2 separate regions of the Homo sapiens genome follow, and region 2 is linked to region 1. Evidence: promoter capture Hi-C in human tissues and cell types (Jung and others, 2019). All regions are on one chromosome and are shown on one strand. Each heading gives the region's core, a stretch centred on a gene start or on the middle of the fragment in contact. The rest is flanking DNA. Distances are from core to core; before and after follow the strand shown.

The links. The method cuts DNA at HindIII sites, captures the fragments that hold promoters and counts their contacts. A contact is called where the count stands out against the background at its distance.
Region 2: a contact is called between a fragment that was not itself captured here and the fragment with the promoter of DZIP1 in region 1, in 1 of the 25 tissues and cell types used here (H1 embryonic stem cells).

Annotation. Positions count from the first base shown.
Region 1 is chr13:95,643,456-95,649,311 of GRCh38, reverse strand. It overlaps DZIP1 (DAZ interacting zinc finger protein 1), which reads left to right and starts at 4,606. Exons shown (of 23, transcript NM_198968.4): 1 at 4,606-4,935; 2 at 5,614-5,711. LOC124903194 (a long non-coding RNA gene) reads left to right here. Exons shown (of 2, transcript XR_007063840.1): 2 at 478-601. RefSeq lists an enhancer at 4,394-4,443 and silencers at 4,534-4,643, 4,734-4,823, 4,884-4,993. The HindIII fragment of the contact is 16,516 bases long and covers 1-5,856 here.
Region 2 is chr13:95,682,626-95,688,436 of GRCh38, reverse strand. The region is part of intron 1 of DNAJC3 (DnaJ heat shock protein family (Hsp40) member C3); the gene reads right to left. Among named protein-coding and RNA genes, the nearest start is that of DNAJC3, 8.4 kb to the right of the region's middle. The HindIII fragment of the contact is 3,910 bases long and covers 2,320-5,811 here.

The sequences.
Region 1 (5,856 bases), core at 3,357-5,856:
CTGCTTCCCTATTTCTCTCTTTTGAAATGGGAATGTTCATCCCATGCCTAAATACACCATTGTACTTTTAAAGCCCTTAGCTTGTTTGATTTCTTAGATTCAAAGCTGGAGGGAATTTGTCTCAGGATGAATCATACACTGACTCTTACCCATATCTGATTTAAATGAGACTCTGAATTTTAGACTTTTGAGCTGATACTGGAATAAGTTAAGACTTTCGGGGCTACTGGGAAGGAAGACATGTATTTTGTATGTGAGAAGGATATGAATTTTGGGGGCCACAGCAGAATGCTGTGGTTCGAATGTGTCCCTTCCAAAATTCAGGTGTTGGCAATGTGATGGTATTAAGAGGTGGGGCCTTTAAGAGGCAATTAGGCCATCAAGATGCCTCCCTCATTAATGGGAGTAAAGCCCTTATAAAAGAGGCTTCATAAAGCGTTCTGCTCACTTGCTCTTTCACTCTCTCTTGCCCTTCAGCTTTCTGCCATGTGAGGACGCTACCAGAAGGCCCTCATCAGAAACTCAAACCTGCAAGAGCCTTGATCTTGGACTTCCCAGCCCCCAGAAGTATGAGAAAATAAATTTCCATTTTTATAAATTACCCGGTCTCAGGTACTTTGTTGTAGTGCCACAAAACAGACTAAGACATATCAATAGAAAGAAGAATATGAGTGTGTGTGGGTGCTAAGCAGCGAAGGAGTTGGATTTAATGGACATTGCATTTGTCTTGTTTTCATATTTCTCTATATAGGTACCTTCCTTTGAGGATTGCTACAGTCTTTTTCAAGTAATTATGGTGGAGCTGTCATTTACACCCTGCGTTTAGCCAAACCACTGGTTGGGCATGTGACTAAGTCAATTAGAATCTTTCTCACAGGAATTTATTTACCTATTTATTTTTGAGATGGAGTCTCACTCTGTCACCCAGGCTGGAATGCAGTGTTACAATCTTGGCTCACTGCAATCTCTGTCTCCTGAGTCCAAGTGATTCTCCTCCCTCAGCCTCCTGAGTAGCTGGGACTACAGGCATGGGACACCATGCCTGGCTAATTTTTGTGTTTTTAGTAGAGATGAGGTTTCACCATGTTGACCAGGCTGGTCTCAAACTCCACACCGCAGGTGATCCGCCTGTCTCGACCTCCCAAAGTGCTGGCATTACAGGCGTGAATCACTGTGCCCAACCCTCCCAGGAATTTAATTGTTATAGTGGCAGTGAATGCAATTGAAGTTGAATTATCACAAGAACAGTTCCCTGTAATCCACAGAACAATCATGAGATGTGGGAGGTTCTAATGGCAGTTAAAATTCGATTTTTCTGCATAAAAGAGAATATCCAGATAAATGTCTTGAAAAGGTTTCTCACCTGGAAGAGATGTCTAGATGCAGGTGGTTCAAGACTGATATGACCCCTTTACAACATCATTCTGCCTTCCCATCCTTAGTATGTGGGTCTGACTTTCAGGTTCCAAGTGTGAAAGAAAATAAAATCTTGGGACCCCAAACTCACTATGCCAAAGGAGATTTGAGCTTGGCAACTGAGTTGGGGCAATACTGCCTACCATTTTGTTTCCAAACAGATGGTTGTAATTTCACAATTCCATGCCAGAGCCTTATATATAAGTCAGATTCCCACAATAATAGAAGGCCATACACCTTCCCAGATGGCCTCCCTCACAAATTACAAAGAAATTCCCTGCAAGCCCCTAAATACATTTCTCCCTATAAACCAGCCCTAAAATCTGTTAAATCTCACAGTGACTGGTATGAGATGGTTTCTCATTGTTTTGATTTGCATTTTTTTGATGATTCGTGGTGTTGAGCATTTTTTCATACGTATGTTGGCCGCTTGTATGTGTTCCTTTGAGAAGTGTCTGTTAATGTCGTTTTCCATCAGTCAGAATGGCAATTAGTAAAAAGTCAAAAAACAACAGATGTTGGCGAGGCTTCAGAGAAAAGGGAATGCTTATACGTTGTTGGTGGAAATACAAACTAGTTCAGCCACTGTGGAAAGCAGTTTGGAGATTTCTCAAATAACTTAAAACAGAGCTACCATTCAACCCAGCAATCCCACTACCTGGTATATACCCAAATGAAAATAATTCATTCTATCAAATAGACACATATACCCATATGTTCATCACAGCACTATTCACTATAGCAAGGGCGTGGAATCAATCAAAGTGCCTGTCAACAGTGGATTGGATTTAAAAAATGTGGTACAGGCTGTTCTGCCTATGGAGTACATTTTTTTTTTATTCCTTCACTTTCTTAATAAACTTGCTTCCTTTTTTTTTCTTTTTTTTTTCTTTTTCAAGACAGAGTCTCCCTCTGTTGCCCAAGCTGGAGTGCAGTGGTATGATCTCAGCTCACTGCAGTCTCTGCCTCCCAGGTTCAAGTGATTCTCCTGCCTCAGCCTCCTGAGTAGCTGGAATTACAGGTGTGCACCACCATGCCCGGCTAATTTTTGTATTTTTAGTAGAGACGGGGTTGCACCATGTTGCCCTGGCTGGTCTCAAACTGTTGACCTGAGGTGATCTGCCCACCTTGGCCTCCCAAAGTTTTGGGATTACAGGTTTGAGCCACCTCACCTGGCCTATTATTCTTTAAACCATGTATATAAAACCAAGGTTAGGTATCTGAAATGGGAATATGAGGCAAAATAATTAATATGTATTGAATCAGACAACACATGTGATTTCTGCCCTTCTTTATTTATCGCCTTCATACTAAAGGACATTAGCCAGGTAATATCAATAACTATTTTCAAATGAGAGAAACAGAAACAATCATTTGAAATAAATTCAGCTACAATGCTTTTGTTTATTTACTGTACAAAATGATTAATGTTCACCAGTATTATTATTTCATTCTTTAGGATCATTTCTGTCTTCAAAAAGCAAATATTTATTTGAGGACTTACTAAATGCTCAAAATGCTGGAATACTTGAGGTTCTTATAGTCTGACCGACGAGAGAGATACCTTAATCATTAAAAATATGTATACCATTATACAATTGGTAAAAGTGGTTTGTGCATAGATCAAGAATGCATCATGGCTGCTAAGTCATGCCAAAGTCAATTGATTCTTCTTATTCCAATTCTACACCTGTAGGGTAATATACTGACAGTGGGGATGGGAAATACATGTAACTCAAATGGTATGTCAACAAATAATATTAATTAAGCAATCATCTCTCTCTCTCTCTCACACACACACACAGACAGCTACCGAGTTTGCAAAAACCGGATTTTGCAGAGCAATGGTCCTATCTATCTCATATTGTCTGAAATTCCTTTCTTTTTTTTTCTTTCTTTCTTTTTCTTTTCTTTTCTTTTTTCTTTTTTTTTTTTTTGAAACGGAGCCTCGCTCTCTCGCCCAGGCTGGAGTGCAGTGGCGCGATCTCGGCTCACTGCAAGCTCCGCCTCCCAGGTTCACGCCATTCTCCTGCCTCAGCCTCCCGAGTAGCTGGGACTACAGGTGCCCACCACCATGCCCGGCTAATTTTTTGTATTTTTAATAGAGACGGCGTTTCACCGTGTTAGCCATGATGGTCTCGATTTCCTGACCTCGTGATACACCCGCCTCGGACTCCCAAAGTGCTGGGATTACAGGCGTCAGCCACTGCGCTCGGCCTATTGTCTGAAATTTCTATCTAGAAATCTTTCCCCATAGTACTTAGAGGATTTTTATAGAGATCTTGAATTTTCTTTCAAAATAATTTTAAAATTAGACCAATTTAAAATCCCATCATGGTCATCTTGGCCTTATGGCTTCAAATAAAACTAAAGCAAGGAATTCAACATAAATACATATTTAGCTGTTGCTATGTTTGAAGCCTTGTGCTAAAGTATGGTACAAAGTTGATTCTGTCAGGGAGAAGCACAAGGAAAGGCACTTTTACAACGGCATGTTGGTCCAGTAAAAGTTCTGCAGCTACTCCTCTCTAATTTAAAAACATATATATATATATTATATATATATATATATATAGCTGCATTAGACACTTAGGTTTTGCAAAAGATGCCTTCATTTCTCATGATGGTATATACATACGTTCTGGATTACTTGTTACTTAAAAATACTGACTTTTGTCCCACGTGTTCCAATTTTAGGTTACATAAATGAGCACACTACTCCGGACCCACATCTCCTGTAATTCAGTGCCTAACTTTCTACCAACAAAGATCCGTGCCTTTCATCCTGAAGTGGGCATAACGGAAAGAGACGCAGAAACCTACGTGGGTTTAAATCCTAGAGGGCTTTGGTGAAAAGTCCCTAATCTCGGTTTTCCACGTCACTCAAATGCAGGGCCACATTAGATAGCCTTTTCAAGGTCCTTCGCATCTGCAGACTTCTGCGATTAAAACGCATCTCTTTTTGGAAGATAATTCACCTGAAGCTCCTCTGGGAAATTAGCTTGCTGAGGGCCAGACCAACAACCGGGTAGGAGCGAATCTGGTTTCTCTTTGAAAAGCCTTCCTAGGGTTAGCATCCAGGGCCAGCAACGGAGCGCGCCCCCGAACCACGTGTCTGCGCCAGCTGCCGGATTGGCTGAGCGCATTTTAGCGCTGCGGTCTAGACGCTCGCGGTCCCGCCCAGTTGCCAGAGGAGCCGGGACACCGAGGGAAGAGGCCGGAGGGAGATCGCGGAGGGGAGGGGGCGGGAGGGGGGTGGGGTATCCTGAGTCGTCCGTGGTCCGGAGTCTGGAAGGCCCTAGAGCGGCGCCAGTCGACCCGCCTCGCCACAACTTGCCCAGACCAGACACGTTTCATCCTGCGCCCTGCAAGAAGGAGCCGGCCTGCCTCTCTCCGCTTTGCTGCTCCTCGGCCTCCGCGGGCCCGGCCCGCGTCAGCAGCGACCCTGGGGTCTGGGTCCCCTGTGTCGCCCCCGCCCGCCTGCAGCGCCCGGCACCCGCCCAGGAGCGCGCAGCTGGGGTGAGCCGAGACCGGGGATGCGCCAGGCGCCCACAGGAGGTGGCTGACGGGGCATCCCGATACCCGCGAAGCCGGCCCTCCTGCCTCTCCAGGCTGCGAGCCGAGCCTCTGCAGATCCAGCTGGAGTAGCCGCCGCTGCCCCCACTGCCTGTTTGCCTTCCAAGGAAGGGCGCCGAGGTTCCCCTGGAACCCGCGTCTCTCGGCTTTTGTCTGCTGGTTCGGCTGCCCGGCGGTGCCATGCGCCTGGGACTTGAGGCGCCGCGCAAGGCTGGGGGCCCTGCCCGGGATGGGGGAGGGAGGGAACGGGAAAGCATGCCCCCTTCTTTCCTGTTCCGGCCATCTTGTGACCGAGATCCACGCAAGGGGAAAGGGGTGGTCAGCGGCACGACGCCCCACGATGGAGTGTGGCGGCCAACGGAGATGGGTACCTCGGGCCCGCAGGCCTCTGCGCCCAGATCTCAGCGGGGGCGCGCGGGCCACCCCCACGTTCAGCTCTGAAGCCCTTGGCCCAGATCATGGGTTAATCGTTCTAACAGGCCAGAGGCAGCAAAAATAGGAGGGATAAAGGGCCAGGAGCTGATGTTTCCTTAACTAAGCGCCTAAGTCATTCGATCGTTCTTCATTCACGTGTCCATTCAGCAAATTCTGAACGCCTTCTCCGTGCCTGTCCTCTGCTAGGTTCTAGGGACGTATACTTGAGCAAGAGAGACCACAGCTCTTGTTCCCGCTGATCCTGCAGCCCAGTGGATGGAGTCCAGAATCTACAGACCTGCCAGGTCGGTGTCTTGATGCTCTTAAACAGATGGAGGAAGCTAAGTCTTAGAGCTGACAATTTGTTCTAGATCAGGGAGCAAGTAAGTGACAGAATCAAACTTTGAAACTATTTATGTCTTTAGCACTTTTTATGCCTGGTTGCAGGGA
Region 2 (5,811 bases), core at 3,025-5,524, 39 kb before region 1:
GAAAACAATAAAAGCCATCTATAACAAACCCACAGCCAACACCATACTAAACAGGCAGCAGCTGAAAGCATTTCCCTTGAAAACTAGAAAAGACAAGGATGCCCATTCTCACCACTCCTATTTGCCACAGTACTGGAAGTCTTAACCAGAGCAATCAGGCAAGAGAAAGAAATAAAAGGCATCCAAATAGGAAAAGAAGTCAAATACCTCTCTTCAGTGATTATATGATTCTATACCTAAAAAACCCTAAGGACTCCACCAAAAGGCTCCTGGAACTGATAAGCAACTTCAGTAAAGTTTCAGGATATAAAATTAATGTACAAGCAGCAGTAACATTTATATACACTGACAACATTCAAGCTGAGAGCCAAATCAATAACAAAATCCCATTTTTAATAGCCACACACAAAAAGTAAAATACCTAGGAATACAGCTAACCAAGGAGGTGAAACATTGCTAAAGGGAGAACTATTAAACACTGCTCAAAGTAGTCATACATGACACAAGCAAATGGAAAAACATTCCATGCTCACAGGTTGGAAGAATCAATATCATTAAAATGGCCATACTGCCCAAAGCAATCTACAGATTCAACACTATTCCTACCAAATTACCAATGTCATTTTTCACAGAATTAAAAATATATATATTCTAAAATTCATATAAAACCAAAAAAGAACCTGAATAGCCAAAGCAATCCTTAGCAAAAAGAACTAAGCTGGAGGTATCACATTACCCAACTTCACACTATACTATAAGGCTACAGTAACCAAGACAGTATGCTTTGGGTGGTATGTGGATTGCTTTAGGTAGTGTTGTCTTTTTAACGATATTATATTCTCCAAATCCATGAGCAAAATTGATAAACTGCTAGCTAGATTAACTAGGCATACAGGAAACATACCTCAACATAATAAAGGCCACATATGACAAACCCACAGCCAATATACTGAATGGGGAAAAGCTGAAAGCATTCACCCTAAGAATTGGAACAGGACAATGATGTTCACTCTTACTATTCCAATTCAACATAGTACTGGAAGTCCTGGCTAAAGTTATCAGGCAAGAAAAAGAAATAAAAGATATCCAAAAGGGACAAGAGGAGGTCAAATTATGTCTCTTCACAAATATGATTTTTTTACCTAGAAAACCCTAAAGATTCTACTAAAGGACTCCAAGACCGATAAACAACTTGAGTAAAGTCTCAGTATACAAAACCATGGTATAAAAATCTGTAGCATTTCTATACACCAACAATATTCAAGCCAAAAACCAAATCAAGAATTCAATCCCATTTACAAAAGCCATATGCAAAAAAATAAAATACCTAGGAAAACACTGACCAAGGAGGTGAAAGATCTCCATGAGAACTACAAAACACTTATGAAACAAATCATATATGTCATAAATAAACACAAAAACATCCCAGGCTCATGGATTTGGAGACTATCATTAAAATAACCATACTGCCCATAGTAATCTGTAGATTCAACACAATTCCTATCAAATCACCAATGTCATTTTTCAGAGAACTAGGAAAAACAATTCTAAAGTCCATACAGCACCAAAAAAGGGCATGAATAGCCAAAGTAATCCTAACCAAAAAGAACAAATCCAGAGGCATCACATTACTTGACTTCAAATTATACTACAAGGCTATAGTAACTAAAATGGCATGGTACTGGTACAAAAATACGCACACAGATCAATGGACTACAATAGAGAACCCCAGAAATAAAACCACATACTTACATCCAACAGATTGATCTTTGACAAAGCTGACAAATATAAACAACAGGGAAAGGACACCCTAATTCAATAAATGGTGCTGGGAAAATTGGCTAGCCATATGCAGAAGAAACTGGATCTCTGTCTCCCAGCATATACAAAAACTACCTCAAGATAGATTAAACATTTTGGACATTGGCCTAGGCAAACAACTTATGACGAAGACCCCAAACACAAATGCAACAAAACCAAAAATAAACAAATGGGACTTAACTAAAAAGCTTCTGCACATCAAAAGATAATCAACAGGGCAAAGAGACAAACTACAGAATGAGAGAAAACATTTGCAAATTATGCCTCCGACAAAGGACTAATATCCAGAATCTACAAGACACTCAAACAACTCAACAAGAAGAAAACAAAGAACCCCATTAAAAAGTGGGCAAAGGGCCAGGCGCACTGGCTCACGCCTGTAATCCCAGCACTTTGGGAGGCCAAGGCGGGTGGCTCACAAGGTCGGGAGATCAAGACCATTCTGGCTAGCACAGTGAAACCCTGTCTCTACTAAAAATACAAAAAATTAGCCGGGCATGGTGGCAGGCACCTGTAGTCCCAGCTGCTTAGGAGGCTGAGGCAGGAGAATGGCGTGAACCTGGGAGGCGGAGCTTGCAGTGAGCCAAGATCGTGCCACTGCATTCCAGCCTGGGCGACAGAGCAAGACTCTGTCTCAAAAAAAAAAAAAGTGGGCAAAGGACATTAAGAGACATTTCTCAAAAGAAGACATACAAGCAGCCAACAAACATGAAAAAATGTTCATCACTAATCATCAGAGAAATGCAAATTAAAACCACAATGAAATATCAATCATCTTACACAAGTCTGAGTGGCTATTACTAAAAAGCTTAAAAAAAAATAGATGTTAGCATGGAGGTGAAGAAATTGTAACACATATATGGGTGGCAGCAATGTAAATTAGTTCAACCACTATGGAAAACAATATGGAGATTTCTAAAAAAAAACAAAAAACCTACCACCAAGCCCCAACTCCAACATTAGGGATTACAATTCAACATAAGATTTGGGTGGGGCACAGATCCAAACCATATCATTCCGCCCCAGCTCCTCCAAAATATCATGTTCTCACATTACAAAATACAATCATCCCTTCTCAACAGCCCCCAAAGTCTTAACTCATTCCAGCATTAACTCAAAAGTCCAAAGTCTCATCTGGGACAAGCCAAGTCCCTTCCACCTATAAGCCTATAAAATCAAAAACAAGTTAATTACTTCCAAGATACAATGGGATTATAGGCATTGGGTAAATAGTCCCATTCCAAAAGGGTAAAACCGGCCAAAAGAAAAAGGCTACGGGCCCCATGCACGTGCTAAAACCCAGCAGGGCAGTTATTAAATCTTAAAGCTCCAAAATAATCTCCTTTGACTCCATGTCTCACATCCAGGGCATATTGCAGCAAGGGGTGAGCTCCCAAGGCCTTGGGCAGTGCCACTCCTGTGACTTTGCAGGGCTCAGCCCACGCGGCTGCTGTCAAGGGCTGGCAATGAGTGGCTGCAGCTTTTCCAGGTGCATGGTGCAAGCTGTCAGCGGATCTACCATTCTGGGGTCTGAAAGATGGTGGTCTTTCTCACAGCTCCACTAGGCAGTGCCCCAGTGGGGACTCTGTTGGGGGCTCCAACCCCACATTTCCCCTCTGCACTGCCCTAGTAGAGATTTTTCCATGAGGGCTCTGCCCCTGCAGCAACCTTCTGCCTGAACATCCAGGCTTTTCCATATATCTGAAATCTAGGCTGAGGCTCCCAAGCCTCAATTCTTGGCTTTCAGCACCTGCAGGCTTAACAGCATGTGGAATCTTCCAAGGGTTTGGGCTGGCACCGTCTGAAGGCCTGAGCTATATCTGGGCCCCTTTCAGCCATGGCTGGAGCTGGAGTAACTAGGATGCAGGCAGCAGTGTCCTGAGGCTGGCAGGGCCCTGGCCCAGGAAACTGTTCTTCCCTCCTAGGTCTCTGGGCCTATGATAGAAGGAGCTGCCTTAAAGGTCGCTGAGATGCCTTGGAGCCCTTTTTCCCATTGTCTTGGCTATCAGCACTTGGCTCCTCTTTACTTATGCAAATTCATGCAGTCTGCTTGAATTACTCCCCTATAAATGGGTTTTTCTTTTCTACCACATGGTCAGACTGAAAATTTTCCAACTCTTCTGCTCTGTTTCCCTTTTAAATGTAAGTTCCAATTTTACATCATTTCTTTGTTCATGAATATGAGCACTGGCTGCTAGAGGCCAGGTCACATCTTGAACACTTTGCTGCTTAGAAGTTTCTTCCACCAGATACCCTAAATCACCTCTCTCAAGTTCAAAGTTCCACAGATCCATAGACCAGGGGTACAATGCCACCAGTCTCTTTACTAAAGCATAGCAAGAGTGGCCTTTACTCCAGTTCCCAATAAGTTCCTCATCTGCGGTCATTCTGAGCCCTCCTCAGCCTGAACTTCACTGTCTATACCACTATCAGCATTTTGGTCACAACCATTCAACAAGTCTCTAGGAGGTTTCAAACTTTCGTTCCTCTTCCTGTCTTCCTCTGAGTCCTCCAAACTGTCCCAACCTCTGCCCATTACCCCATTCCAAAGTTGCTTCCTTCTACAATTTCAGGTATCTTTATAGCAATGCCCCACTCCCAGTACCAATTTTCTGTATTAGTCCATTCTCACATTGCTATAAAGAAATACCCGGAACTGGGTAATTTTTTTTTTTTTTTTTTTGAGATGGAGTTTTGCTCTGTCACCCAGGCTGGAGTGCAGTGGTGCAATCTCGGCTCACTTCATCCTCTGCCTCCCAGGTTTAAGCAATTCTCTGCCTCAGCCTCCCAAGTAGCTGGGATTTCAGGCGCCCACCTCCACAACAGGCTAAGTTTTTTTTTTTTTGTATTTTTAGTAGAGACGGGGTTTCACCATCTTGCCCAGGCTGATCTTGAACTCCTGACCTCGTGATCCATCCACCTCGGCCTCCCAAAGTGCTGGGATTACAGGCGTGAGCCACAGTGCCCAGCCGGAACTGGGTAATTTATAAAGAAAAGAGGTTTAATTGGCTGACGGTTCTGTAGGTTGTACATGAAGCATGGCTGGGGAGGCCTCAGGAAATTTACAATCATGGCAAAAGGTAAAGGAGAAGTAGGCACATCTTCACATGGCCAGAGCCGGAGGAAGACAGAGAGGGGGGAGATACTGCACACTTTTAAACAACCAGATCTTGTGAGAATTCTATCACAATAACAGCTCTGGGGGATGGTGCTAAACCATTAGAAACCACCCCCATGATCCAATCACTTCCCACCAGGCCCCAGATCCAACACTGGGGATTACAGCTGAACATGAGATTTGGGTGGGGCACAGATCTAAATCATACCACCCCACCATTACACAATATACCCATGTAACCTGCACATGTATATCTTGAATCTAAAATAAAATAAAGTTAAACAAAAAAAAAGATTCTGCCCTCAAATGCTGGCTCCTTTGTGAAACCTTCCCTCACACTGTATTGTTTTGAGAGAGGGAAAAAAAGCTCCTTCAATCTTCCTATATTTTGCATTTCCACACTCAGAAGTACATGACTTCACTTTGCAATATCACTCTCTCTATATATTGCTTTTCACAATTTGCCTGCTTCTCAAAGTCCCAACTCCACAAAACTTATCAAAAGCAAGTTTGAGAGGAGGAGCTGTCTTTTCTTCTTTGTATCACCTAATTCAGTATCCCGCACATAGTGGGTATGCAATATTTGTTGAATGAATTTAACTATTTGCCTTTTTACTTAAACGTATTATAATTCATCAGAATAAAATCTAAAATACATAACAATTATCAAGTCAAACATATGATCAATGATTCATAAAGACACATCTGAAAAATCAAATTATTTGCGAATTATTGGCTGTTTTTGCAATCCACTCTCTTTTGAGCCACAGGTAATTTTTATTCCTTTGCCACATGGTCTGTAAACATTATTTTCAGAGAGGTAAGACAACCAAACATCATGCCATTTCCTAATCAGCATTAGACAATAGGTT